Regions from separate parts of the Homo sapiens genome. Here all the other regions are linked to region 3. Evidence: promoter capture Hi-C in 16 types of primary human blood cells and fetal thymus (Javierre and others, 2016). All regions are on one chromosome and are shown on one strand. The core of a region is centred on a gene start or on the middle of the fragment in contact, and the rest is flanking DNA. Distances in the headings are between cores, read along the strand shown.

Region 1 (4,557 bases), core at 441-2,940, 360 kb before region 3:
TCTCTAGGAATACTTTAAAAGGGGTTATCTCAGCTGTCTGTGATAGGCTGGGGGGCGGGGGGAAGGGTGGGGGCTGCGGCCATTGCTCACTTCAAAGGAGAAACGACTAGAGCTTTCCTCTCCTCTTTCCTCCCCTCCCCGCCCCCTGTCTGTTTTAACCACGGGGTGGAGGCTCTCTGCCTTTCTCAGAATCGGACTTCTTGAGAGTCCACTCCCAGACTATTAACCGCCTAGGAACTGCGGTCCCCACCCCCCAACTCCAACCCCGGCCGAGAACAGTGGGGAGTCGTCCCCATCACTCCTACACGAGACTACAAAACCCGGAGAGCCGTGCGCGGCAGACAAGGCCGACTGCCAGGTTTTCTCAAGGGTCCACTTGGGGGATGTAGTCCGACGGTCGGGCTGCGCCCCTAGCTTAGAACGGCAACGAAGGCAGTGAGTGACTACAATGCCCACAGTGCTCCACGAAGCGGGGAGCCGGAGAGGTGAGCGCGGCGGCTTCCGGGGACGGTAGTCACACGACAGCCGCAGTTAATGAAAGGCAACGGCAGAGTGGAGCGTGGGAGACTACAAGTCCCATGGTGCATCGCAGGGAGGCGGTAGCCCAAGCCTTGCAGGCCCCAGCGGAATGACCAGGGCGATGGAAGGAAGTCGTGCTCGTTGCGGGCGTGGGGAATGGGCTTACCGGCGTGTCGAAGGAGAAGGCGCACTCGTCTTTGTGGACCCGGTCTCCAGCCTTAGGGACCCGGATCGTCGGTAATACTGACAGCAGCGCCTCCTCACTCAGCTCCGCCATGACACCGGCAGCAGCTTCTCCACACACGGCGGCTCCCACCGTTCCCAGTCCCCTCCCCTGCCCCTCCCGTCCAATGAGCGCCACTCGTTAGGGGCATGCGCCGCGGAGACGACGCGCGAGAATGGCAGTTGGACGGAGCCTGCCTGCCGGTGCTCCGCCCCTGCCCCGCGCTTGACTGACGCCAATGAGAAGCGCTCCTAAGGCAATTGATGGTTGAAAGAACCAATCCCACTCCTCCAGGGCGGGAGCGCACGTAGAGCAGCTAGGTGGGCTTCGGGGTTGCAGCTGCTGCGGCTCCGCAGCTGCTCCGGCTCCGGGACCCTTAGAGTCCATTCGCGTGCCTTCTATTGAAGAGCAGGAACTGACGGTTGTTTTAGGCCTCTCAATTCCAGAAAGTTTCCTGGGGACCTGTCCGGTCGGAAAGTCGAGGGACAGTTGTCTTGGTATTTGTAAAGGGGGTATCCAGTGAGGCGGAGCTTGAGGGGGTTGTGTCGAGTGACTGATACAGCTGTCAACCAATAAAGCTACTATCGCTCGCCTCAGGAAAACCATCACAACTCCAGCTGGATGTGCGCATAATAGTGTAATCACTCATGATTCTATTTTGTTTAATAATTCGTTCTTGAGACTAGACGTCTCGAAAGCGAAGACTGGCACTCCTCAGCCTGCCACGGACGGCTCGCAGGCCGATACTGAACAGAAGTACCCTTATCAAGGAGGCGTCACCCCTGGGCAAGCCTAGCATCAGTCCATTGACACCTACAGTCACCATGATAGACGTTCTCCCAGACCAACAGCTTCCTTTGGCTCGAGGCGGGTCTTACGTGGAGGGCCTATGGGAACTACGTCGGCTCAGCCAATAGGGTCAGGGCAGGGGGCGTGGCGGGAAGTTTGAAACTGGTAACTTCGGGAGTTGAGCCACGAGCTGTTGTGCATCCAGAGGTGGAATTGGGGCCCGGTAAGTGATTTGAATAATTTAATAAATAAGTTAGAGGGCTCAGCAGGCCCAGAACGAGCCATTTTGTCAGCTGCAGCAGTCATTAACTCCGCAGAGGCCTCTGGTCCCTCGCCAGGAAGTTTCTTCACTGGAAACTGGGAAGACAGGGTGGTTTAGGGTTGAAGGTCCGACGTGGAAGAGATAAGGGCTGAGACCTGAGTCACTTCTCACAGGCATTCCCTCCTCGTCCCGGGCTGGCCCTTGCCCCCACCCTGCAACTCCTGGTTGAGATGGGCTCAGCCAAGAGCGTCCCAGTCACACCAGCGCGGCCTCCGCCGCACAACAAGCATCTGGCTCGAGTGGCGGACCCCCGTTCACCTAGTGCTGGCATCCTGCGCACTCCCATCCAGGTACTCTGGGCCAGCGTGGGAAAGGCAGAGAATGTCTGAATTCTTGGGTCTCTTCCTAACCTGATTTTGAGAGAGCCGTCATGACCCCACCCTTATCCTAGCCTTATTTTCTGCAATCTCAATCTGTGTGGGGTAGGCTGGATATCTGAGGGCCTTGGCAATTCCTTCCTGGAATATGGGGAGGAGAGGAGAGAAGAGTCAGGGCCCAGACTTGTTCTAGCCTATGGTCTTGACAGGTGGAGAGCTCTCCACAGCCAGGCCTACCAGCAGGGGAGCAACTGGAGGGTCTTAAACATGCCCAGGACTCAGATCCCCGCTCTCCTACTCTTGGTATTGCACGGACACCTATGAAGACCAGCAGTGGAGGTAAGCGTTGGGCCCAGGGAATGCTGATGAAGCTGTCATCTATTATTCTTGGGTAGGGTCCATGAAGCCATTCTCTCAGGGTTCCTTAAAGGGGCCTCTATCCTCCTGCTTCGGACCCATCTCACTCTTATCTCAATATTTTGTTCCCAGCCTGGGTGCGGTGGCTCATGCCTGTAATCCCAGCACGTTGGAAGGCCGGGGTGGTCAGATCGCTTGAGCCCAGGAGTTCAAGACCAGCCTAGGCAACATGGCAAAACCCCATCTCTAGAAAAAATACACACACATAACACACACACACACACACAAAAGCACGGTGGCATGGGCCTGTGATCCCAGCTACTCAGGAGGCTGAAGTGGGAGGATTGCTTGAGCCCACAAGGTCAAGGCTGCAGTGAACTGTGATCACGCCACTGCACTCCAGCCTGGGGGACAGAGCAAGCCCCATCTCAAAAAAAAAAAAAATTGCTCCCTTTCACCTTGATTTCCTTGATTTCTCTCTTCCCACTTGCTCACCCTCCTGGGCATGAGTCCTGGGTTTCTGTATGTTTTGCTCCTTGCTGAATGTTGTGTATCAGAAGGTCACTGTTCACTTCACTTTCTTCCTCTAGACCCCCCAAGCCCACTGGTGAAACAGCTGAGTGAAGTATTTGAAACTGAAGACTCTAAATCAAATCTTCCCCCAGAGCCTGTTCTGCCCCCAGAGGCACCTTTATCTTCTGAATTGGACTTGCCTCTGGGTACCCAGTTATCTGTTGAGGAACAGATGCCACCTTGGAACCAGACTGAGTTCCCCTCCAAACAGGTGTTTTCCAAGGAGGAAGCAAGACAGCCCACAGAAACCCCTGTGGCCAGCCAGAGCTCCGACAAGCCCTCAAGGGACCCTGAGACTCCCAGATCTTCAGGTACAGAATCTAAGGCAAGATGCAGGGAAGATAAACTAGGATAATGTTTTGGGATAAGGTCCATGGGTGAGTGTGGGAGGAATAAACTGTAAGTCCTAGTTTTGGGTCCTTGCTTTAACGCCTTACCCACCCCAGGTTCTATGCGCAATAGATGGAAACCAAACAGCAGCAAGGTACTAGGGAGATCCCCCCTCACCATCCTGCAGGATGACAACTCCCCTGGCACCCTGACACTACGACAGGTAAAGGAAGAGAAAGTGCAAGCTGTTACTAGGATATCCAACGTAGAGGGTGGGAGACCCTTTTACCCAGATCTTCCCTCTTCTGAACAGCAACTCCCCCCAACTCATACACTGCCGTTTTCAGGGTAAGCGGCCTTCACCCCTAAGTGAAAATGTTAGTGAACTAAAGGAAGGAGCCATTCTTGGAACTGGACGACTTCTGAAAACTGGAGGACGAGCATGGGAGCAAGGCCAGGACCATGACAAGGAAAATCAGCACTTTCCCTTGGTGGAGAGCTAGGCCCTGCATGGCCCCAGCAATGCAGTCACCCAGGGCCTGGTGATATCTGTGTCCTCTCACCCCTTCTTTCCCAGGGATACTGAGGAATGGCTTGTTTTCTTAGACTCCTCCTCAGCTACCAAACTGGGACTCACAGCTTTATTGGGCTTTCTTTGTGTCTTGTGTGTTTCTTTTATATTAAAGGAAGTAATTTTAAATGTTACTTTAAAAAGGTATATGTAAACCTTGCACCGAGTTTTCTGTGTGTAGAATGGCGGCCTAGAGAGCTTGCGTTCCCTGGCCTGAGCCCACTGATGCTCTGAGCCTTCTTTGCACATCTCCCTTTAACCATGGTGTCCCTATGGCTCTGTCCTTGGCCCTGCTCTCCCTGGGTGTTTACTTCTAGGGCTTTAGCTATCACTTCCCTATATTCTGGTAACTTTCAGGTCTCTCTCTCTAACCCTGACCTTTATCCAGCTGCTTTATAAGTACTTCAAAGTCAGTTTGTCTAAAACTGAATTTATGATCTTCCCCCAAAAGCTATTCCTCATTCCCTCTTCCCTATCCTTGTGAATGACAGCATTATCTACCCAGCCACCAAACCCAAACCTTGGCCATTATCTCGAATCCTTCCCTCCCAATGTC
Region 2 (4,418 bases), core at 1,277-3,776, 370 kb before region 3:
TCCTGGGCCTAGAACAAGAAGCTGGCCTAAGTAAGACCTTTTCTGCCTCTCTAAGAGGAAAAATCACTGGCACCAGTGGACACTTAGTGTGGTTTCTGACTGAGTCAGAGTACCAGGGCTCTGATCCAAGCCAGGCCCTGGACTGGATGCCCTTGGACAAGTCACTGTCTCTGGGTTCAAGGTCTCTGTGTCTTTGAAATAAGGGGTTGCCCCATGTGGGCTGTGTCTGTCCAAACCTATTGAGGCAGGCTGGGATGAGGGCAGGGCTCCTGGGCCCGGTTACCTGTTGGGGTGTTGCAGTCTTGCCAGTACCAATGGCCCACACAGGCTCATAGGCCAGGACGACCTTGCTCCAGTCCTTCACGTTATCTGCAGGGCAGAGATACAGATGGAGGGAAGGGTGAACAAGAAAGAGCTCTCCAGCCAGGTTCTCCGGAGTACGAAGAACGGTGGCCTACTGCCCCCTAGTGGACATTGGGGGATTTCCAGGTGGCATCTACCTTGGGGCTGGAGAAGTCATAGGCCCCAAGCAAAGATTGTCACTCCCCCTCCCCTTTTTCCTTTTCTGGATCAGCATGGGGACCAAGACAGGCTCCAGGGCCTGACCCTACCCTCTGAGTCTCTGTGGCCCTGGATAGGCTCAAAGGTCCCTTTCTCCAGAGATACCTGCGATGACCTTTGTCTGCTCGAAAACAACCTTCTCAGTGATGCCAGCTTCCCTTTCATCTAGCTTCTCCCCAATGCAGGCGATTACTCCGAGTCCCTCTGCCAGAGCATGGGCCACTTTCTGCCCAATCAGCTGTTGAGAAACAGACTTGGTGAGACATCCTTCTTGGAAAAAGACATCCCTTATCTTCTCTCTTGGCTACTAACCTCATCTGACTCCCCAAAGACATGCCTTCTCTCTGAGTGCCCCAGGACCACCCACGTGGCTCCGCAGTCTTTGATCATGCCAGGGCTAAAGGAAGAGATGAAGCCAAGGTTCAGCAGGGAGCCCACCCTGTGGCTTTCCCCTCAACGAGGAAAGTGAGGGAAGGGTCCCACACACCCCTCTCCACCTCGATCTCACCTGATCTCCCCAGTAAAAGCCCCATTAGTCACTTTGTAGCAGTTCTGCGCAGCCACAGCAATCTTGGGATCTAGCTTCTGCCGGGCGAAGTCGATATAGGCAGTAGGGGGAGCACAAACCACCTCTGAGGACAAGATGGTACCACAGGGGGATGAGACTAAAGAAAGCCTTCATTCCCCACAATTCCTAACCAGTGCCCTGGAGCCCCCCAGCCCTCACCCTCTTCTTCTTGGTTCTGCTCTCCCCCTTTTCACCCCAGCAAGATGACCTTTGTCCATTTTCCAGCCCAGGCTGGGTCTGCACTCAACTCGAAGAGCCTTCCAGATACCCCTGAGAGGCCACGGCCCTCACCCTGCCCTCTGCTCTTTTAACAGCTGGGGCTCCAATTTCCTCGAGCTATTCTCGGCATAGGCACCTCACAGACTCAGCATTCTCCAGGGAGCAACCCTGCTTCCCTTCTAAAATAGCCCATCCTCACCTCCCCTTTGCAAGGCAAGGATTTGTAGCAAAAGGAGAGGGGCCAACTCCTGGGGTTTGTATTGAGGCCTCTGGGGAATGAACGAGAAGGGGATGCCTCTTTGGATCAGGCCCGCGGCTCTCCGATTTCGGTGGAGGGAGGAAGGAGGATGGAGGAGAGCATCCTTTGCCCGTGGGTGGCAGAGACCTAACTGACTCAGAGGCCTTGCGCTTTGCTGTTTCCAGGTTGGGGAAAGCGGTAGGATGGCTCCTCACTCCCAAATCGCTCAGCCTGTTTGGCACGGGCTCGGTCCCTTCCGTGGAAGGCGGGAGTCGTTCAGGTTGCCGAAGGGAAGGGGTCAGATCTGGGGCTCAGGGAGCCCGAGCAGCTCGGCGCGGGGACGCGGACGCCGGCGAGGAAGGGGAGGAGTCTGGGGCTACGTGCGGCGGCGCACGGCGCGGGAGGCCAGGGCGCAGGGAGCGGGAAGCCCACGCGGCCCAGCCTCCCCCGGTCTCCCGCAGAGCCTCGGGCTCCGCTCCTAACCCCGTCGCCTGGCGGGCACAGCCCCAGTGCGCGCCCCGGGGCCACCTTCCTCCAGGAGACCCAAAACGTCCTTACCTGCCCCATAGTCCAAGGGGCATCATGTGCTCCGCCCTGCCCCCTCGACGCACCGACGGGGCTGCGGCTGCGAGGCCCCTGCCCGGACCCCAGCGGCCCTCGTCCCACAGCCCTGCATCAGGTCCGCGCGGATACCGGCCTCGGGGCCTCGGGGCCTCGGGAGAGGGCGCTGCCACTCCTGCCCCGGCCCCGGCCCCGGCCCGGCCAGACCCCTCCTCGGCGAGGGCTTACCGGTGTCGGCCGGCACCTTGGCCGCGTTCAGAGTGCCGATGAGCTCCCCCAGACTCTGCTTCCGCCCGTTCATCTTCCAGTTTCCCCCAACGAAGAACTTCCTGGAGGGCGCCATGGCGCTGGAGCCGAGGCGCTGAAGGTCAGTGTCTGCGCGCAGTCGCGGCCACTGCCCACTTATATAGAGCGCCGCGAAGTGGAACTCCGCCTCCTCGCCGTCCTCCGCCATGGCCCGCCCAGTCCCCCGGAGCCCTGCCCCCCGCCCGCCCTCCTGCCGCCGCCCCGGCCGCCGCCCGATGATGCACTGTTCCGACGTTCCCCCTTCTTGTGGCAACGTTCTAGGAGAGTCGGGGGCTCGGTCGCCTCCGCCTCGATTGCGGGGCTTTCGGGACAAGGCGAGACCTGTGAGCTCCGGCGCTCAGGGGAACCCTCGCTTGGCGACTTGAGTCCCCCACGGGGCCAGAAGTGGTTTTCAAGCGGAACTAGCTGGTGGCAACTTGGCCGTAGCCCAGATCGCCCACTGGGGCAGAGAGGGCCCCTCTCCAACTGTGGGATAGACAACCTCCTTCGCCCATCGGAGCAGCTCATGCCCGACTGCTGAGCAGGCACCCTTGTACCCAGGGAGTCTACCTGAGTGAAAACTTGCGGGACAAATGCAGGGTTCACAGCGGGAGGGGCAGCCCACACAGGCATAGGCCGCCAGGATCATCCCAACCCTCGCCCCGGCTGGCAAGGCCTGGCAGGAACTGCAGGGACTGAGTCCCAGCCTGAAGCCAGCTAGCCAGTTAGGGACATTTGGGAAATCCTCCACTCCTGTGTGAATAAAGAGAGGGAAGGGTTCTTCACTCCATCTTTCCTTGGCTTTGTGTCGGCATTTAGTCACTCTACTCCACCTCCCCACCCAACCCCAATTTTCCTAGAGCTCTAGAACCAGTGAAAAGTGGAGACTTGACTTTGGCAGGGAGGCGGCCAGAGTTAGGAGTTTTCTTAAGCGCCCTCCTGCTAACCCCAGGAAGGTAAGCCTCTCCCCCAAGGTATCAAACAGGACACAATTTAGCCGTTGTACTTTTATTCACATCGTGTATTTTGGCATTTTCCAGAGAAGGACAAGGAAGAGACAGGGTGGGGGAAAGACTGAGGCAGGAGGGCAAGTCGGGGGGTCCCTATTTCCCTCACATCCCTCCTTGACCAACCACACAGGGGCAAACAAAGGGGGAGGGGAGGCACAGGTGATCGCTCCACTGGGAGAGGATGCACAAAGCTACACCCACGCGCACAAACGAGACCCCTCCCTCCACACCAGGGGGCTGGGCGGGGCGACACAGAGAAGCAGAGCACTGTGGATTCCGGGGGCAGGGGAAGCAACAAAGTCTCCTTACAGACAGGTGGCCGGCCCCTCCCGTCCCCGTCCTGCTCCATCCCCAGAGTCTATCGCTGCCCCTCTGCTCTGCCCAGCCATTCTCCCACGGCCTCCAGCTTCTTCCCTGCTGCCGGGGACAAAAGGAAAAAGGGTACAGAGCAGAGGGGCTGAAGTCCATCCCTCAGCCCCTCTCCCTCATGCCAGGTGGTCTTCCCCTGCCCTCATTGGTAAGGGGTGAGGCAGGCTCTTAGCTGGCCACTCTCTGGTAGAAGTAGATGTAGCCCAGGTCCTTGGGCGGCTTCTCGGAGGCACACACTTTCTGGTCATTGTAGATCACCCATCTGGGGAAGTGGGGAAAACAGAAAAGGATGAACAAACTGGGCATTCAAAGTGGCATCATGTAGTCTCTCAGACATGGCCCCTGGAAGTGCTCTCCACACTCTCTGCCCATACCCCAAATCCACAGCCCAGCCACCATGTGCCTTAAGGGAGCTTCACAACCTCACAAGGGTCACGGACCCTATTATGTCTTCAGATCCTCCAGTACCTTTACAACCACCCTCCACCCATTCCAGGGAGGCAGGGGGTTGGTAAACTTTTTCTGGCAAGGGCCAGATAGTATTTGAGGTTCTGCAGGCTCTCTCTCTGGTCTCTGACACAACGACTCAACTTTCCTGCCGCAGCGT
Region 3 (4,612 bases), core at 463-2,962:
GTTAGGCTGTTTGCATGTATCATATCTGATCTAAGTATCCTAACCTCAATCCCATGAGGTGCATAATAATACAAATGAGTTTACAGAGCGGAAATTGAAGTAAGAAAGTTAAGCGATTTGCTTAACATCTTCCGTTGCGGATCTGTTAAGCGATTTGCTTAACATCTTCCGTTGCGGATCTGTTAAGCGATTTGCTTAACAACTTCCGTTGCGGATCTGTCAGACTTACAGTTTCTCACACATCGCGCCCCAGGGATATACTTACTAGGCCTATTGTATTTTGCCCAAGACTGGGTCACACTGCCATGTACTCGACTTTCCTACTCTTTTACGACCTGCAACACCACATCTTACCTGGGGATCTCACCCGCGGCTCTGATTCCGGCAGTCAGGCTGAAATGAAAAGGAAAAAACACGCGTGCACAACACGCACCAATTAGCAAGGCAGTTTTCAAGTCGGCGGAGAATCCGGCCAATCCCCGGCAGGCAGAGGCAAAGGGCCGCCTCTGAGTCTGGCAACGCGCGGGCAAAGCCACAAATACCGAGTTCAAATCTCAACGGCTGCAGGACGGCCAATCGCGACGCCCGCCGGAGCGGCCGGCCAATCACAGCGCCGCCCGGGGGCGGGCCAAGGCTCCGGCTCCGGCCCCCGCTCCCACCCCCGGCCCGCCTGCGAATCCCTCCTTGGCCGCAAGGTCCCCCTTTGCCCAGTCGGCGGGGAGGAGGCCGTATTTCTGCTGGCCAGAGACGTCGCGTCCCTGGCTGGGCATTCAGTCACCCCCAGGAAAGGAGGCAAGTCCACGCTGGGAGTTAGAAGGCATCGCCTCTAATCCAGGTTTCGCCATCTCCTCTGCTAAGTGACGTCCAGCAAGTCACTTCACTTTCAGGACCTCAAATCTCCTCCCCAGTAGTAAAATAGGGGTAATAAAAACAGCTACAGCGGAAGACTGTTGTGAGGCACAGAGAAAGGGCTTGGTCATTGGAAGCGGGTTCCAGGTTCTCAACCTTCATTTCCTTCACGGTTGAAGGACGCCAAAGAAAGCGGAAAGGGTGAATTTTCTTGAAATCTCAGTTTTGGGGAATCTTAGCGACGAGTCGCGGACCTCAGCTTGTCCGGCGCTCCAAAACTTCCGGCAGGCGGACCGGAAGCACTGAGGCGGGAAGGGTGGTAGAGGCCCCTCCTGCCGGAACCCGGGGGGCGGGGCTCGTGGCTGTTGCGGATGGGGCGTAGGTGGGCGGTGCGCCCACAGCTGCCTGGGTAAGGCCCAAGATGGCTGTCTTCGCCTTAGTACTCGTGTGAAGTTGGCGGGGACGGTTCCTGTCATCTTCTTGGGCTTATTTGGTGTGCTGTTGAAGGGGGGAGACTAGAGAAATGGCAGGGAACCTCTTATCCGGGGCAGGTAGGCGCCTGTGGGACTGGGTGCCTCTGGCGTGCAGAAGCTTCTCTCTTGGTAAGTGGCTGATGTAGGCACCCCGATAACTGCTTCGTAGTATAATAGGCGGCTCAGATTAATTCCCTCCCTTCCCCATCCCCAGGTGTGCCTAGATTGATCGGTATAAGGCTCACTCTCCCGCCCCCCAAAGTGGTTGATCGTTGGAACGAGAAAAGGGCCATGTTCGGAGTGTATGACAACATCGGGATCCTGGGTAAGACTTGACCTTCGACGTGGTACACAATTTCAGAATGGCAATTAGGCTGTAACGACTATCTTTTCCTCCTGTGTAGAGAGTGGTACTGTGCTCAATAGTAAGAGCAAACACTTATGTAGCTGTTTACATTGTGTTTGGCACTGTTCTGAGTCCCCTCGTATAATTTTTACTTCATAAGTAAAAATAAACAGTTTTTCCAAAGTTAATAAATGGCAGCATCAGAATTTTAACCCCAAGCAGTCTGGCTCCAGAGTCTGTGCTATTGTTCTGTACTGTAATGTTCCTTGTCTATAGGTGCTGCTCAGCAAGATGCAACCGTGGGTTGAAAGCTTAGCTGGTGTAGGATGAGTTCTCTTGTCTTGGATCTAATGTGTTCTCTCACATTACACAGGAAACTTTGAAAAGCACCCCAAAGAACTGATCAGGGGGCCCATATGGCTTCGAGGTTGGAAAGGGAATGAATTGCAACGTTGTATCCGAAAGAGGAAAATGGTTGGAAGTAGAATGTTCGCTGATGACCTGCACAACCTTAATAAACGCATCCGCTATCTCTACAAACACTTTAACCGACATGGGAAGTTTCGATAGAAGAGAAAGCTGAGAACTTCGGAAAAGGCTCATCTGTCACCCTGGAGAAGGGAAACTGTACTTTTCCCTGTGAGGAAACGGCTTTGTATTTTCTCTGTAATAAAATGGGGCTTCTTTGGAATTTGATAGCCACATACTTTTGTTTTCCTCTAGATGCTGCCTCTACTCATGTAGACTATGAAGTCTTGACTCATCCTAGATCTTAGGATCTTAGGTTTGGGCTTCACACCACTTGCCTTTTACAGTCTAGCTATACCTAATTCCTTTAAAAAGAAAAGTTGGTGAGAATGTTATTGGCGCTTTTTGACATAATGCTGTTATGTTAATAGTGTTTCTAAAGAGCCTTCCACACTGAAATGAAATATAAGAGAAAAATGGAGTCATACTTCTGTACTACTCTCATAAAATATTTATTAGGCATATTCTCTGAGTAGGAACTATAGGAAAAACAAAAAAGTGTGAGGTGTCCTTTCCATTTAAATATGAAACATTAAGTACCATATGAATGGTAGAGATGGCGGATACTAAGCCTGACTGGTCATCAGTTTTCTGGGTGTTTTAACATTTCAAAAGCCTAGTCCTAACCCCTAAAGATTGATCAGTAGAGCTGAGTTGAGTCTAGGGCATCTATGTGTTTTGTTCTTTTTTAATAATAATTTTTAAGAATTACAGCTGGGCAGAATGGTGCCCACATGTAATCCCAGCATTTTGGGAGGCTGAGGTGGGAGGATTGCTTGGAGACAGGAATTTGAGACTGGTCTGGGCGACATGGTGAAACTCCGTCTCTACTAAAAATAAAGTGGCTGGGTGCGGTGGCTCCTGCCTGTAATCCCAGCACCTTGGGAGGCGGAGGGGGGCGGACCACGAGCTCAGGAGATCGAGACTATCCTGGCTAACACAGCCCTGTCTCTACTGAAAATACAAAAACAAACAAACAAAAAAATTAGCCAGGAGTGGTGGCGGACACCTGTAGTCCCAGCTACTCAGGTGTCTGAGGCAGGAGAATCACTTGAACCTGGGAGGTGGAGCTTGCAGTGAGCCGAGATCGTGCCACTGCACTCCAGCCTGAGCAACAGAGCAAGACTCTGTCTCAAAAAAAAAAAAAAAACAACTTAGCTGGGCATGGTTCTGCATGCCTGTAGTTCCAGCTACTCATGGTTCTGCGTGCCTGCAGTCCCAGCTACACAAGAGGCTGAGGTGGGAAGATCACCTGAGCCCAGGAGTTTGAGGCTGCAGTGAGCTGAGATCATGCCACTGCATTCCAGCCTGAGCAACTGGGGTGAGACTGTCTCAAAAAAAAAAAAAAAAAAAAAGTGAAGTTAGGGCTGGGTGCAGTGGCTCACACCTGTAAGCCCAACACTTTGGGAGGCCAAGGCATGAGGATTGCTTGAAGCCAGGAGTTCAAGACCAGCCTGGGCAACATAGCAAGACCCCATCTCTATATTTTAAAAAACAAAAACTCCATAAAAGTGAAGTTAGATTAATAAATACTTGTTGCGGGGCATGGTGGTTGGAGCACACTTATAATCCCAGCTACTCTGCAGGCTGAGGTGGGAGGATCCTTTGAAACCAGGAGTTGGAGGCCAGCCTTAGGAACATAGCAAGACCCCATCTTCAATAAAAATAAAAAGCACTTGTTAAATTACAAGTGGGTTTTGGATAAATGGATTGATGGGTATATATGAAAACATGATCCTGGGTCTTACGGAAATGTTTAGGAGAGTCAGTTTTCAGAGGGGTGGCTGGAAGGAGCTATGCATAAGAATGGAGAAGTTGATGTGAAATGTGAGTGGCTGTATACTTTACATGATTTGGTGGTGCTAGAGTGGAGAAAATAAAATATTTGGGACTCTGCTAAGTGCAAGGTGCCCTGAAGAAGATATCTACATATCCTGGTAGAGTATCTGATTGTTAGGGAAGAGGAAATTAATAGGTCAATAGGCATTTATAGAATATTTCCTGATTCAAAGATACAAAAGGTTTTGTTTTCAAGGACAGAACAATCTTGTTTGTGGTATGAAACAGTATATAACGTTTTCTTTGAATAAATATTGAATTATTATGTGCAAAGATATTTGGAGGAACAAAAATCACCAAGGTAGGGTTGGTTCCTACCTCTAAGTAGTCTTCATTCTACTTAAAAGATGTCCGGTGGCTCACACCTGTAATCCCAGCACTTTGGAAGGCCTAGGTGGGCGGATCACGAGGTCAGGAGATCAAGACCATCCTGGCCAACATGGTGAAACCTCGTCTGTACTAAAAATACAAAAAAATTAGCCAGGTATAGTGGTGTGTGCCTGTAATCCCAGCTACTCGGGAGGCTGAGGCAGGAGAATCGCTTGAATCCGGGAGACAGAGAGGTTGCAGTGAGCTG

The links. The method cuts DNA at HindIII sites, captures the fragments that hold promoters and counts their contacts. A CHiCAGO score of 5 or more calls a contact.
Region 1: a contact is called between the fragment with the promoter of CDCA3 here and a fragment that was not itself captured in region 3, in 4 of 17 cell types (non-activated CD4 T cells, activated CD4 T cells, naive CD4 T cells and 1 more). The highest score is 8.8, in non-activated CD4 T cells.
Region 2: a contact is called between the fragment with the promoter of TPI1 here and a fragment that was not itself captured in region 3, in 2 of 17 cell types (non-activated CD4 T cells and activated CD4 T cells). The highest score is 7.4, in non-activated CD4 T cells.

What each region holds. Positions count from the first base shown.
Region 1 is chr12:6,848,419-6,852,975 of GRCh38, reverse strand. It overlaps CDCA3 (cell division cycle associated 3), which reads left to right and starts at 1,690. Exons shown (of 6, transcript NM_031299.7): 1 at 1,690-1,754; 2 at 1,967-2,143; 3 at 2,380-2,509; 4 at 3,118-3,411; 5 at 3,547-3,653; 6 at 3,778-4,148. The coding sequence starts at 2,024. The coding sequence ends at 3,933. USP5 (ubiquitin specific peptidase 5) reads right to left here and starts at 826. Exons shown (of 20, transcript NM_001098536.2): 1 at 686-826. The coding sequence starts at 796. RefSeq lists enhancers at 165-804, 1,075-1,124, 228-1,188, 1,195-1,474 and silencers at 855-964, 1,635-1,684. The HindIII fragment of the contact is 8,619 bases long and covers 1-4,557 here.
Region 2 is chr12:6,865,639-6,870,056 of GRCh38, reverse strand. It overlaps TPI1 (triosephosphate isomerase 1), which reads right to left and starts at 2,526. Exons shown (of 7, transcript NM_000365.6): 1 at 2,376-2,526; 2 at 1,070-1,193; 3 at 874-958; 4 at 667-799; 5 at 284-369; 6 at 1-8. The coding sequence starts at 2,490. It overlaps USP5 (ubiquitin specific peptidase 5), which reads right to left. Exons shown (of 20, transcript NM_001098536.2): 20 at 3,425-4,073. The coding sequence ends at 3,980. RefSeq lists silencers at 1,920-2,359, 2,630-2,679 and enhancers at 2,949-3,610, 3,611-4,273. The HindIII fragment of the contact is 21,039 bases long and covers 1-4,418 here.
Region 3 is chr12:6,489,897-6,494,508 of GRCh38, reverse strand. MRPL51 (mitochondrial ribosomal protein L51) reads left to right here and starts at 1,247. Exons shown (of 3, transcript NM_016497.4): 1 at 1,247-1,451; 2 at 1,537-1,647; 3 at 2,042-2,623. The coding sequence starts at 1,373. The coding sequence ends at 2,238. NCAPD2 (non-SMC condensin I complex subunit D2) reads right to left here and starts at 407. Exons shown (of 32, transcript NM_014865.4): 1 at 355-407. RefSeq lists a silencer at 450-779 and enhancers at 215-812, 980-1,029. The HindIII fragment of the contact is 539 bases long and covers 1,443-1,981 here.